Regions from separate parts of the Homo sapiens genome. Here region 2 is linked to region 1. The links are contacts of gene promoters, found by promoter capture Hi-C in blood cells and fetal thymus (Javierre and others, 2016). All regions are on one chromosome and are shown on one strand. The core of a region is centred on a gene start or on the middle of the fragment in contact, and the rest is flanking DNA. Distances in the headings are between cores, read along the strand shown. Region 1 holds the start of DYNLRB2 (dynein light chain roadblock-type 2). Region 2 overlaps WWOX (WW domain containing oxidoreductase).

Evidence for each region. The method cuts DNA at HindIII sites, captures the fragments that hold promoters and counts their contacts. A CHiCAGO score of 5 or more calls a contact.
Region 2: a contact is called between a fragment that was not itself captured here and the fragment with the promoter of DYNLRB2 in region 1, in 1 of 17 cell types (total B cells). The highest score is 6.9, in total B cells.

What each region holds. Positions count from the first base shown.
Region 1 is chr16:80,537,359-80,544,723 of GRCh38, reverse strand. It overlaps DYNLRB2 (dynein light chain roadblock-type 2), which reads right to left and starts at 3,731. Exons shown (of 4, transcript NM_130897.3): 1 at 3,645-3,731; 2 at 1,373-1,448. The coding sequence starts at 3,647. All of the region lies in intron 1 of DYNLRB2-AS1 (DYNLRB2 antisense RNA 1), which reads left to right. RefSeq lists an enhancer at 3,591-3,680. The HindIII fragment of the contact is 6,420 bases long and covers 2,465-7,365 here.
Region 2 is chr16:78,740,685-78,748,049 of GRCh38, reverse strand. All of the region lies in intron 8 of WWOX (WW domain containing oxidoreductase), which reads right to left. Among named protein-coding and RNA genes, the nearest start is that of WWOX-AS2, 240 kb to the right of the region's middle. RefSeq lists an enhancer at 5,025-5,284. The HindIII fragment of the contact is 374 bases long and covers 2,780-3,153 here.

The sequences.
Region 1 (7,365 bases), core at 2,482-4,981:
ATTTCAACTTCTAACCTCCAGAACTGGAAGAGAATACGTTTCTGTTGTTTTAAGTTAACAGGCATGTTGTAGTTTGTTACTGTAGCCAAAGGAAACTAACACACCATCTCTATGAAATCACATGGACGGCTCATCTTCGGAGCTGTGGCAGAGTGTATGCAAATACCTGGAAATAAAATCAATGCAACCAGATCCACGTACTAGGGCTGGAATGCTTCCTGGAAATATTACGCATAGTTTGTGACTTACCTGGAAGGCAGATCTTAAATCCTCTCTTCCCCCTGATTATTCAAGCTCGAAAATTTATTATGTTCTATTATCTCTCTCACTCATTTGGCCTTGAGTTGCTGGTTATAAAACAAATGTTTTAACTGTATAAATGAATTAAAAATCCTCACATTCTCATAACTATTTAATTACTATCAAGTATTGGGTATTATGCCAAGCACTCAACAATTATTGTCTCATTTAACAATGAAAACCCCCAGTAAAATAGGTTATTGTCCATTCTTAGTGGTAAGGAGTTGTAGTTCAGAATTTAAGCAGACTTTCAGTTGGTAGTTGCTTAATAAATATTTACTGATGGATTTTTCCAAGGCACTGAGTTGGTAATAGGCCAATTCCATGGTTGCACCACAAATTATGTAAAGTAGCTACTCTTATTTTAACTAATGCTCTGGAATTTCTGGCACTCCTTGCCCTTACAAATGTCTGAATTAGCAATGAAACTAGCATGAACTCTTAAGAGGTTGCCACCATAGCTGAGCGTGGAGCAATGTGCCAAAGTAAATGTGATGTGGATTCTTAACAAGGATCGTGCAGCAAGAGCAAGTTTCTGGTAAGTCTACAGATTTCATAGTTGGAAATATGTAGGGCCTTCTTATGCTATATCCACAAAGACTATATTATAAATGATATCGTTAATTCTCAAAGATTTTTAAATAAAATATGTTCAAGGAACAAGTTCCATTTAAAATAAACACTGAAATTCTGTATGGTTCATAATGTTGAAACGCAAACAACCCACCAACAATGATATTCTCCCTATCTTCTATATGATAGTTTTATTGGCACTTCTGAAATGTTGGAAGAGAATTACCAAAGCTTTAAAAAGTAAACAATGTATAGTGCTTCTTAGGAGTATATAGAGATTTTTAGACATGTCTTATTCATATTTATGCCCCCAGATCTTAGCAGAGTGTTTGGCATATAACAGATACTCAATAGATGTTTGGTAAGTGAATGCCAGAGCTAAAATATATAAATATATTTTTGATGTCAAATTCGAAGATGTTTGTCTTAAGGACTAACACGGCAAACAGGTTCCTGGTTGGCTTCTGTGTGTCAAGAAGACAGCCTGTGATATATTTACCTTCTGCATTTACAACCATAGTTCCAATAACCCCTTTATGACTCTGGATCCTCTTTAAGGTTTCCTCCACCTCTGCCTGAAAGAGACCAGGAAGATAATTAACCAAAAGGGCCCTGTGGTAACTTCAACCCTAAGGAGAATAATGTTTAGCAAGATACCTACTCTCCTATCTCCTTAACCTAAGGTGCCAGGTGTGATAATCTCAGATTTTTAAAAGACAGCTTAGAAATTGTCAAGTCCCACATAAATACCTACGTAAGACCTCCTGGATACAATCCTGATGAATCTCTTGGCTTGAACCCTTGTAGAGACAGAGAGCTTACTGCCTCACAGGAGTTCACTCCATTTTTATCTGTTTCCATTTACTAGAAAAGTATTCTTTACATTGCATGGAAATTTGTCCCAGATTATCTTTCATTCATTGACCCTGCTGTATTCAAATGAAAATTCCTTTTCTACATTACAGTGCTTTAAATATTTATAGAGCTATATCATGGCCTCCCTCTGTCTAAAAGTAGTCCTTATTGAGAAATCTTATTTTCATTAATGTGACCTAATCAGTTCGGATGATTAAATTTAAAGGATAGTCTATAAAAACAAAGTATTCCAGGATTCTAGGATTTTCTTGATAACTATAGCTTGCGTCTCAGTGCAAGCTGAATGTTCAACTATGAGTGATTATTCTGGAATCTATTATTGTGTTTTAAACTCATTCGGAATCTTATGTGTAGAGTGTATTGTATGTTTTCTTCCCCTGTAGAAAACTCAAAGACAAGAACGATCTTTTCCAAACCTGCAAATTTTTCATGACTGAGCAATCACTGGATATTTTGAATTCTGCAAATTCTCTTGATGAGGGTTTGCTATATTCTTTTTTCCTCAGTATTGCACAGGTGAACATTTTGTTACTTCAAGATAGTTTTCCTTTGTACTTGGTATGGGCAGGAGCACTTATTTTCTCTATTTCAGCATCAGAGCCAAGGTTTTCTTGACTTTAGGCATTTGTGTACTAGATTCATGATTCTTGCCATTATGAATGCCATGTATACTATTTATCTAGGTGTTCTTTAAATTATCTCACTGCTAAAAGCTTAAATAAATGCATTTTAAGAGGAAATCGTATGTCACTACCACAAATGGAAACCTGACGTTATTCCTCATAAATAGAAATAACTGTAAAACAAACAAAATGAACAAAATGAAGAGAGAGCCTATCATTAAATTCTACTGCAATGAAAGCTCTGAGCCTGAGGCCTGCTCTTCGGATGAAAAAATGGAAATTTCCAAATGACAGTGGTATTAAGGACCTAATAGCAACAGAAATTTTCTCCTGTATGTAGTCTGAAGGTTGAACAAAATGGAAGAGGAATAACTTTCTCACGATGTGATTCACTCTTATTTAGCATTTCTCGGCCATCTTATGTAGCAACGAATGTTTGCATCTGACTTTGAGAAACACTACACTAAACCGTAAGCGTTGAACAGGGGATCAATAATTCACTGCATTTTGGGCAATCTTTAAGACGATGTCCACAGCTTCTTACAGCCACTGTGTCCTTATTTATCTTTCTCCCTTTACTTATCTCCCAAACTCCTTTCTTTTCTTTCCCTGGCCTTTCCATTTCTCCACCCAGTTGTTTCTCTTCTCATGATTTGTAAGTGCTCCTAGTATAATTTCTTAATCCCCATCTCCAATCCCCGTTTCATTCTTCTCTTAACGCCCTTTGCTTTCCACAGTCTCTACTTTTTTTTTTCTTACCTCTTTTTCTGGGGGGGAGGGGGGCGGGTCTCCCATCACTTCTTTCCTTTTTCTTTATTTCCCTTTCTTCTTTCTCAGTATCTTCCCTTCTCACCCTTCCATTCCCTTGCTTTCCCTGTCCCACCTCTTCCTTCTCTCTAAGGGTCTGATTTTTTTTCCTCTCCATCTCGGCCTCCCGCCCCCTCTTTGGAAACTTTCCTGGCTCCCCGGATTTCTCACTCCCCTGAGCATTCTTCATCCTCTGAATCTCTCTCTTCCCTTTCTCAACATCACCCCTCCTTATGTACCATCCCCGCGAAATCAATTCCCAAAACAGCTTCCAGTCATCTAGACATCTTCTTGCCCCTTTCCAAGGTCTCCCTCTCGCCCCTCCAGGAAGATCCTGGAGCCACCAGCCTCCGCCGCGGCCCCTGGACCGCCCGTGCCTGGGTGGGCCCCAGAAGCTGGGTGCGAAGGTCCTTGACGGTCGGCGTGCTTGGAACGGCGGGGCGTGGACGGAGACCCCAGATTTACCATCGCGGAGGCCGCGAAACTCTGGGCTCAGGCCGGCGGCACAGCCTCCCGGGATGTCAACAACGCTACCCGCCGTTGCTAGGAGACAAAAAAGGAAGTGGCCCCACGGAAGCGTCAGGGCTGCGCCTGCGCGCTCGCGAGTCGGCTTTTTCGCCCTGACCGCGCTCCTGATGCCTCCCGGCCGCCGTAGGCGAAGGTTCGCGGAAGAGGGGAGCAGGCGCTCACCTGAGGTTCGCCCAATCCTGGAGCAGTGGGTCCCGGGAGGGAAGAGGGAAGTGGGTCAGGCTCCCGGCCTGTGTTTGTCCATTCATTCATTCATTGAGGCACGAATTAATGTGATAACCACTTATTCGTTCAAAAACTGCTGATTCACCACCCACCAGGTGCCAGGGAGACGGACAAAATGCACCAAACAAAATGCACGAAACAGTACCGGAAGCAGTAATGTCCACGTGTGATACTTGCCCTGGAGCAAGTAAGGAGGGGACAGGACCATCTGACTTCGGGGTTGGGCTGCTCTAGGGGTTTGGTGATAGTCTTAGCTGCCTGTGACCGTCCATTAGTACTGCCCTGTTCAGGGCAGATACTGTTCGCTCGCCTCCCAGTAGTTTTTATATTGAAGAAAAATATATCAGAGCATCAAATAGTACAACCTTATGTACTTAAAAAAATTACTTTCTATCTGTCTACTCTAAGATCAGTAGAGTAAGCACAGTTGCACATTTTATGTTCTCACCTAGTTATAGCACCCTCTTCCTGTTCTCAACTCCATTGAAGAGTTGCTACTTGTCAGTATTTCTGTTAGTTGTCAGTATCCATTAGGATCTGTATTTTTGCCATTTTAAAAATCAACAGTTCTGAGTTACTAAAAAATTGCAAATGGTAGTTCCGGAGGTTCTATACGTTGCCATAGAAGAGCATTCCATTGGGTGTTTAAGGAACTGTTGGAGGAAACACGTTAAAGATCAGTTAGGAATGATCAGAAGTCACTTGACCTTTTGAGGGACATTGATAATATCCTTATAGCCTAGGAGGAAAAGAGCCACTATTGTACGACGAAGCACAGCAGGAAAATTTTATGGCTGGAGTCGTGTTATGACTTCCTGAGGTTAGAGGAGGACAAATATTGATTACAAAATACAAGCTGTAAGTTGGGAATGCATCTTCATAGGGATCATGCCATAACAACTTCCTGTAATACCGATTCTGTTTGTGCATCCATTTCCAGAAAGTAGTCTCACACTGAACAAGGCATACATCGTGCTAGGAATGTCAACTGGATTCTGAATGGTCCATGTTAGGGGTGCTCTGGGACAGTTTTGAACTCATTGGCAGGCTTGGACTCGATGATCCATTTCAACTCCACATCTGTCATTTTATTATATTAACTACAGAAATACTCTGAGAAACTGTAGTTCTGCTCTAATTTTTGTTGAGGTGTGGGTGATTCTGATCACTGTAGTTCTCTCCTTTTTTTCCCTCCAAGAAATCTGTATATCTCAGCCAGTTCACTATTACTAGCCAAAGAATCCCGCTTGACTCTCAACACCTGGTACTCCAACAAAGTTGCTTTGGAAAGGACTGCTATAGCTGTGGGGAAGGAGTCTGAGTCTGGTGTGTGCGTGTGCGTGTGCATTTGTGTGCTTGTGTGTGTATGCATGCATGTGTGTACAGATCTGGCTCTTACCTGATTGACTATAGCTACCATTTTGCAGTAATACAAATAATAGGTCTTTACAGAAATACTGGCTGAGTTGAATGAAGAGTGATTCTTGGGTTCTCTGGGTGTTTCTGATCAAGGAGATTCCACTTGATTGTGTAGCCGTTTGTTTTTCTTACAAAAATCAGTGACAGTGCACCATGTCTGATATGTCAATCAGCTTTAATGAAGGAACCAACTGCATATGCATGGAGTGTGAATTTCCTTGTTTCTGGAGTCAGGATGTCAAGCTCATTCAATAGCTGACAGCTGTAATTAGAGCAAAGAACGATTCTAGCATAAAACGCACTGACGGGAGAACCCAACTGCTGAAAAAGAAATAAGAAGTAGCCAAACTGACTTCCAACCAACAGTCAAGTTTGACTCTGTGCACAGAAAATCAATGAGGAGAACTTGAGCCATTTCCCCTTTATCAATTTTTCACTTCTAATTATTCCTTGGAGGTAGCTCGGTTTAATTTTCATGCCTTTTTTGGACCTGTAATGAATATCCAGAGCTGTGCTATATAAAGTGTCTTTGCAATGTCTTACATGTTTCCTACTCCATCCCCAATATATGTGAATTCCCCTTTTACCCTCTCCTCTTTCTCCCATCCCCTCGGCCTTTCTTTTTGACTCACAATAAGTGCTAAATAACTTTGAACGTAAGTGAAAATATTAGTGAATAATAGTTTTTGCAAGTACTCTGACTTAACCCCAAAAGTGATACATGCAGAGACCAAGTCCACTATTTTTCACATATGATTTTGTTAGAAGGAGATGATTTTCTTCTGGGAGTCTCTCTTGCTGTTTGATACTTTGCTACTGCTCTCTGGTTAGCTTGAAGAAATCCAGATAACTTAATGATCTTGAGTTTTTTTTTTGGTATTTTCTATACCAACCCATATAGCTATCTTTGGCATTCTTGGCAGTTGGCAAATATTATGAACTGGGCTGTAGAATAAATTTTGTGCCCATTTTCTCATAAGGTAAGGCATTGTTTGTCACTTACCAGAACTTCTCCTGGTATTCTACTGGTTTCCCTCCAGAAAATAGACACTACATTCTTCTAACATGTTCACAGGCCAGGCATGGTGGCTTTCATCTGTAACCCCAGTGTTTTGGGAGCTGAGGCAGGAGGATTGCTTAAGGCCGGTAGTTTGAGAACAGCCTGGGCAACAAAGCAAGACATAATTTCTACTAAAAATCAAAAAAAAAAAAAAAAAAAGGCTGGGCGTGGTGGTATATGCCTGTATTCCCAGCTACTTGGGAGGCTGAGGCAAGAGGATCACTTGAGGCTGGGAGTTTGAGGTTGCAGTGAGCCACAGTTACACCACTCTCACTAGCCTGGGTGACAGAGTGAGACTTGTCTCAAATAAAAAAAGTACAATAAAATAATAAAATAAAATACTCCTTAATACTAGGGCATAATTAGAAGATACCAGTAATATCAATAAGTATTTCCTAAAACTGACCCAATGTCATAGAATTGCAGTATTATAGATTTTAAGTTTCAGAAAATCAATCATTTTCTTCTTCTTAGGACAAAGGCACCCTCTGGGGTGACTCCTTTCAAGACCTAAGTGTAATAGAAGTATTTGCTTTCCATAAGGGAATCCTTCCTGTTGAAATTAAGTGTTTTCCTAGAGCACAGGATTTGGAGTTGTATGCATGTGGGGTTGACATTTCTAGGCATATTTCCTTCAATAAAAAAAACAGCATCAGCTTCTTCATTTATAAAGTAAGAAAGATAGTATCTACCTTAGAAGGTTGAGATGCGAGGTTTAAATATTATGTGGGTGAAATGTCTGGCTCATACCAGGTGACCAGTGTGGATCATTTAACCATGTTTCTTTCTTCTGTCTTTTCTTTGGTCCATCTTTCCTCCTTCCCTGCATTCCTTCCCTCCTCTCTCCCTCCTTCTCATCTTTTCTCTAACCTTTCCTCCCCATTTCCTTCCCCCATTTCCATCTTGTCTCCCTTCTTCACTATCCTCTCCTCAACCTCTCTTCCTTCTTACCCT
Region 2 (7,365 bases), core at 1,717-4,216, 1.8 Mb after region 1:
GATCCCAAGTGCTCTGGCCAAGTTCAATACTCTTCGGCGCAGATGGACTTGGAGTTTCTTAGGCTGCTACGCAAGAGGACCACTAAGAAGCATGGTTATTTCGGCTGCAGGATGCTGAGTCTAAGAAAAACTCAGGCATCCAAGAGCATGCCCCTCCACTGACAGGTGGAAAAACTGAGGCAGAGAGAAAGATTATAGTTTATCCTTGATCATGGAGCAGCTTGGAGACAGAGGTAGGACTAAACTCTGGTATGTTGAGCAATCCATGCTCTGCCAAGCTGCAGCATCTCCTCTGTAGGCTGGATAAGCTCATGGGCTGACGCTCTAGGGAAGAAGAGGCAGACAGTAATCGAGGAAACAATTGTATACATATTCAGAAAGTGGTAAGTGCTCAAAAGAAAAGAAACAGAGTGGGTGAGGAGAGGCAGGGTTTGAATTCGACTCCACCATTTGCTAGCTAAGTAACTCAGCTTGCCAAGGCTCTCTTAGCCTCAGTTTCCTCATCTGAACATTACGAAGGCTCATTGTAATGCCTGTCTCCTAGGGTTGTTGGGAGATGCTAAGAACGCTGGCACATAATGAGCACTTCATAAATGATGGGTATTTTTATTTTATTATTGTTACTTAAGTAGGATGGTCAGGGTAGGCCTCTGAGAAAGTGATATTTAAACTGTGTTAGAAAGATAAGAAATTAGACAGGTGTGGTCGCAGATGCCTGTACTCTCAGCAATTTGGGAGGCTGAGGCTAGAGAATTGCTTGAACCCGGGAGGCAGAGGTTGCAATGAGCCGAGATCGTGCTACTGCACTCCAGCCTGCATGACAAGAGCGAGACTCCATCTCAAAAAAAAAAAAAAAAAATGGGCAAGAAAGTGCCCCCCACCACTCTTCCCAGGCAAAAGAAACAACATGTACAAAAGCCTTGAAGCAGATATAGGCTCTGTGGGTCCCAGGAAAAGAAAGAAGACTAGAGTGGTTGCAGGATATTGGGAGGACATTGGGCACAGCTACTTGAGGTAGGAAATAAACTGAGAGGCAGGCAGGAGTTCAGGTCTTCAGGACATGTAGACCCTGGAAAAGAGCGTGTATTTTTATTCTAAATGGTATAGGAAGCCACTAGGGATGGGGAGTGGTGTATTCATCAGCTACTGCCAAAATACTGCCGCATAACAAACAACCTCAAAATTTCAAGGGTTCACAAGATCAAATATTTATTTTCCTCACTCACTAGTCTAAGAATTGGTTGAGGTTGGCCTGATATTGACTGGGTTTGCTGAAAATGGCTCCAGGGTATAAGTCAGATTCAGGTCTGTTTCATCTATCTCATTCTGCAGCCCAAGCTGAAGAAAAGGCATTGGCTATGGGAAAAATGCAGGAGTACAAAGCCAATCATGCAAGCACATCTCAAGACTCTGCTCACATCATGTTGACTAATATCCCATGAAAAAAAAAAATTACAAGGCCAAGAGCCAAAAATCCAGGAGCAAGAAAGTTCATTTCACTGCTCATGAGGCCATGGCAAGGGTGCTGATATCTAGTATTACTACAATGCACTTTAGCAGGCCTAAAGTCCTGGAGTGTACTGGAGTGTAGTGGCATGATCATGGCTCACTGCAGCCTTAAACTCCTGGGCTCAGTTGATCCTCCTGCCTCAGCCTCCCAAGTAGCTGAGACTACAGGCATGCACCATCATTCCCAGCTAATTTTTAAATTTTTTGTACAGGCAATGTCTTGCTATATTGCCAAGGCTGGTCTTGAACACCTGGCCTCAAGCAATCCTCCTGCCTTGGCCTCCCAATGCACTAGAATTACAGGTGTGAGCCACCATGCTCAGTCCTGTTGTACTTTAGACCCAACTACGTCAGCTTTCTGCTGACCCTGCTTTGACAAATGCCCAAACCACCCATGGTTCATCATATCAAAACGATGTCCTTGGACAAATCACATGCTGGTTTGCACCATCTTAGCTCTGGCTTTCCTGAGCATTTTGGCTTCTTAGAGTAGCCCCCCTCCACCTCTCCTTGTGGATGGATACAGATTATGGCCCTTCCCAGTAGCCTTCTGAGACGTGGTGCAGGGTTCCAGTTCATAGCAGCTGGAGTCAGGGCTGGAAGGAGCAGCGGGAGTGTTTTCCTTGGCAGGTTTCTGGCATGCACACGTTCCTAGTATTAAAATACAATGTGCTTTTTCCAAACTAGATGATCTACACCAACCATTTTATCTGTAAACTAGCCCTCTACCCACCCACCCTCAACTCTGGTCTTGGAACTATTTGAAGGGGGGGGAAAAAGAGGAGGAAGAGGGAGGAGGAGAAGGAGGAGGAAAAGAAGAAATCTATGAGGGGGTGTGGCAGTGAGGGGGTGGATGTCTATGAAAATTTATGTGCTGAAAAACAGCTGTAAAATGTTTAATGTTTCAATGAACGTTTTATGTTTACCATAAAAAATCCTCCAGCCAAGAAGGGCTTTAAAATGTTACATTTCCAAACAGATCCACAGAAAGAAGCAAAAAAAAAAAAAAAAAAAAAAAGGATTTCCACAAACCCCTCTCTATGGAGTGACCCCCAAACGCTAAACATTAAAATAGGGTCCTTCTGACCTAGGTCAATGTTGAGGGAGAAAAGAATAACAGGCATGACACAGGGAGAGGCCGGCAAGAAGAATGAAAAATATGCTCATGTTTTTCAAAGCTAAGTACTCATGGCAGAAAGCCTTGGAAATTCAGGCTTTTGAAGGCAGAGGTGGAGGAAGGCGGGGAAGATGCCCAGCTCAGCCAAAAGCTTGCTGAAAGATTCAAATGTAATCAATCAGTCCACCAACAGGAAGAACTAATCAAGTGCCTTAATACTGAGTTCTTCCAGGAAAGATCCTGGCTGAAGGGACACTGGCTTTCACAGACAGAGGCATGTTCATATTCAAACTCCACTCTAAACTAGTCTTGGCTCCTATAGTCAGTTTTTTTTACCTCTTGAGATCTCCATTTCTTCATCAATAAAATGCAGTGGCAGGCGTCACTGGCCAACACTGAATAAATGGTATGTGCTGGGAAGCAGGGACTGGGGAAGCCAGGAGTCATGATGAAGTCAGCTTAGCGCAGCCTGAATCAGGTAGGGAAATTAAGACCTGACATAGGAGGAAACAGAAAACGTTGAAGCTTGGAGGAAAACTAGAGTGTTGCTCTTCTTTGCTTACCCAATGACTTTAGTGAAGTCACCATGTGGGTCTTCAGGCCAACCAACCAGTTTTACTTTTTAATCTCCCTTGTAATTAATATTTTCCACACTGTTTTCGGGTAATAGAAATGCAGTGCAGGCTGGTAATAGAAATACACAGTGGCTCACGCCTGTAATCCCAGCACTTTGGGAGGCCGAGGCAGGTGGATCACTTAAGGTCAAGAATTCAAGACTAGCCTGGCCAACATGGTGAAACCTCATCTCTACTAAAAATACAAAAATTAGCCAGGTGTGGTGGCAGGTGCCTGTAATCCCAGCTACTCGGGAGGCTGAGGCAAGAAAATTGCTTGAACCCAGGAGGCAGATGTTGCAATGAGCCAAGACTGTGCCACTGCACTCCAGCCTGGGTGAGAGACAGATACTCCGTTTCAAAAAAAAAAAAAAAAAAAAAAAAAAAGCAGTGTGGACCATGGGCCCTTCCTAATCTGGCCCCTTCAAGCGTCTTCTGCATATAATGATCATGCAGTCACTATAAAAAAGCAAACAAATAAAAATGAAACGTCACATGTACCTTCTGAGACACACCTTGCAGTTATAGCCTATGTGTTTCTAAAGTCCTGTGCCTTCAGCTTACTATATCCTTCCTTAAGCCCTGTCTTTTCACAAACTCTTACCCAGCTCTCAAAACTTAGTTCAAATACCACCTTTACGGACCTTCTGATCTGTATCAAATGCCTGTTTACTGTGTTCTCAGAGCACACGCTGCTGTGGTGTACCCCAATACTCTTCATACCACATCCAGACATTCATTATGTTACTGGAGGAGGGCGTCCAGGTTCTTGGCGTTTTGAATAAAGAATTGGACAAAACGCATAAACAAAGCAAGGAAAGAATGAAACAACAAAAGTAGAGATTTACTGAAAAGGAAAGTACACTCCAAACGGTGGGAGCAGCCCAAGCATAGAGGCTCAAGAGCCTGGTTAAAGAATTTTCTGGGGTTTAAATACCCTATAGAGGTCTCCCATTGGCCACTTGGTGTACACCTCATGGAAATGAAGTAATGGCCCACAATCAGTCAGATTGGTTGTGGAAAGAAGTTACACTCCTATGCAAATGTCTGATAGGTTGTGAAAAGCAACCAATCAGAGGGTGAAGCGAAGTTACAAAGTTACAGCTCCTATGCAAACGGCTGAATGGTCGTGGAAAGCAACCAATCAGGGGTACTTTCAATTTTCCATCTGCAACTCAGAAAAGTGGGGAGGGGTTGCAGAGGGAGTAGCCTCTGGTCCTTTTATAACTTAGTTGTGGAAAGTTGGTGTTTTCCTTTTGATTTAATTATACAAAGTCAACGTGAATCAGCCTTAGATTCCCTGCCTCCAGATCCTGTTCTCCTGCCTCACTTACTTTTCTAATTTCTTCTCTAAATGATGCTTCTTGAGGGTAGACACCGAATCCTCATCATCTCAGGACACAGTACAAAATACAGCATGAAGCAGATCCCTGGGAAGATTCTGTTTGAGAATCAATGAGTTAAGAAACAAATGACAGCAAACACAGTCTTCTTTCTAGATTGGCAAATGAGGGAATACTGGTCTCTGAGGGATACACAGGGCCAATCTCCTCACTGTCACCTTGCACTCAGAGAGATAAGATGGCTTTTGCTCTCCAGTGCAGAAAGAGTGGCCTCCTCTGCCAGCATGAACCTTGCCTGGGAACTGATATCAATAACGGCTGCAGCACACAGAGAAAGACACTCAAGTGTCTCCTCCAAGGAGAGAGACGGATGTTTCCTTCGGGGGCTGATCGGGTTCACTTCCTGTTCATGAGCACGGCAGACACCTAACCTCCCGGCTGCAGTAAGGGTTGGGACTGTATGTGGGGAGTTGGGGTACTGTGCTTGGGAGACATTAACGAGGCCCCTCTTACTCTTCCACAAGCCAGGGCCTTCTCCTTCCTCTTTTTGGGAGGCCCAGGAAGTGGCCCTTTCCTTGACCAGACCCTACACTGGGAAGCCCCCGGCTCTGACCATGAGACTCGCAATGGCTGTTCACTGGACAATTTCAAGTGAATTCCCGCAAAGTTTCCCAAGAACATCAGATACAAAAGAGTTGATGGATGGAAACTCACACGATAAACCAAAGTGAAAACAAAACTGTGTCGCCCAACCCCATGTGAACTGAAACCGCAGGGCAGAACGCTCTGACTCCGCAGACATAAACAGTTTTAGCCCCGAGTGAGTCACCAGCGCAGCCAGGGCAAAGCTGGAGAGAGATTTCTCGTGATGCGCTGGGGATCGCTGTGCGTTCCTTTCCCTAGAAACTGATTTGTCATTTGAGTCAGAGGAAAGAACATTTCTAGGGCACCTAGTACATACCAGAGGCTCTGGTCCACGCTGTAGATAAATACTTCCAACCTGTTTTCACAGTAACCTGCATAGGTGCTGACTATTATCTCCATTTGCACATGAAGACACAGAAGCCAGGGCGCTGAAACACTTAACCTGAGCCAGAGCTAGAAGTGGGGCTCTGTCCTGCTGCTGCCCTTCACCAGAGGACACCCTGAAGCCCTGATGGGTCACATGAGTCTGCGTTTTCCCTGTCCTGAGTGGTCTCCAAACTGCCTTGATCATGGACTATTATCAGTAAAAATAAGTTTTGAGCACACTCACCCCTAGTATTTGTACACTGATTTATCGACAAACGATGTACAATCTACATGTAATATTACAAAACATTGCAAGGAAAAGACATTTAAATGGGTTGAGATAAAAGATAAAGGTAAATAGGGGCTACTATGTTTTCTATCCATATCCTAGTGCTGAGGTCACAGGGTTGCCAGGTTGAAACTATACATAGACATCGTAGGGGGTGGGAAGAGAGGATAGGAGGCAGGTAAGGAGGGAGAGAGACAGAGATAATGTCCAGTTAAATGTGGAACATCCTTTTGCTAAAAAATTATCCATTGTTTATCTAAAATTAAAATTTACTTTAACATCTTACTTTATGTTGTATGTATGTATTTATTTGAGACAGCGTCTCACTCTGCCGCCCAGGCTGGAGTGTAGTGGCACAGTCTCAACTCACTGCAACCTCCGTCTCCTGGATTCAAGCAATTCTCCTGCCTCAGCCTCCTGAGTAGCTGAGACTACAGAGCACCCGCCCCATGCCCCACTGATTTCTGTATTTTTAGTATAGACAGGGTTTTGCCATGTTGGCCAGCCTGGTCTTGAACTCCTGACCTCAAGTGATCCACCCACCTCAGCCTCCCAAAGTGCTGGGATTACAGGCATGAGCCACTGTGCCCAGCCAGATATTTTGTTTTTGAGACACAGTCTCACTCTGTCGCCCAGGCTGGGGTGCAGTGGTGATCTTGGGTCACTTCAACCTCTGCCTCCCAGGTTCAAGTGATTCTCCTGCCTCAGCCTCCCGAGTAACTGTAATTACAGACATGCGCCACCACGCCAGCTATTTTTTGTATTATTAGTAGAGATGGGATCTCACCAGGTTGGCCCGGCTGATCTCGATCTCCTGACCTCAAGTAATCTGCCCACCTTGGCCTCCCAAAATGCTGGGATTACAGGCGTGAGCCACCGCGCCTGACCAGCATCCTGCAATTTTATTTGCTAAACATGGCAATGCTAAGGAGTCAGTAAATGCTTTCTGTTACAGGATTATAATAAAGATTCTAGGCTTTGTGGGATAAATGGTCTCTGTCACAACTACTCACTCTCCTACTGCAGTGTGAAGTGGCGCTAGGCAGTTCCTAACCTAACAGGCATGACTGTGTTTCAGTAAAAATTTATTGATAAAAACGAGTGGCTGGCTGGACAGGGACTTTGCTGGCCACTGCCCCAGTGGATCATCGTGGTGTATCCCACTTAGGAGACCCATGGCCTGTAAGAGAAGGGCTTGTATTTGCACAGTTCTCCAACAATGTGACATAGTGAAAAAATAAACTCTTATTTTTTCTGTGAGGGTTTCTGGTGGGGGCTGGTGAGTAGACAAAGGATGATAATGGCAACTCTTTTTATCATAGGAGTTATAAGAGGAGCAAAAGCATCTCTAAGACACGCTCATGCACACACGTACACACACAGAGTGCTGCAACCAAGATATCCACCAGGGTGGACCTGCATTTGGTGTGTCAAATTGAATGCTTCCCTTGCCCCAATTACTAGCGCTTCAATCGGCCAACT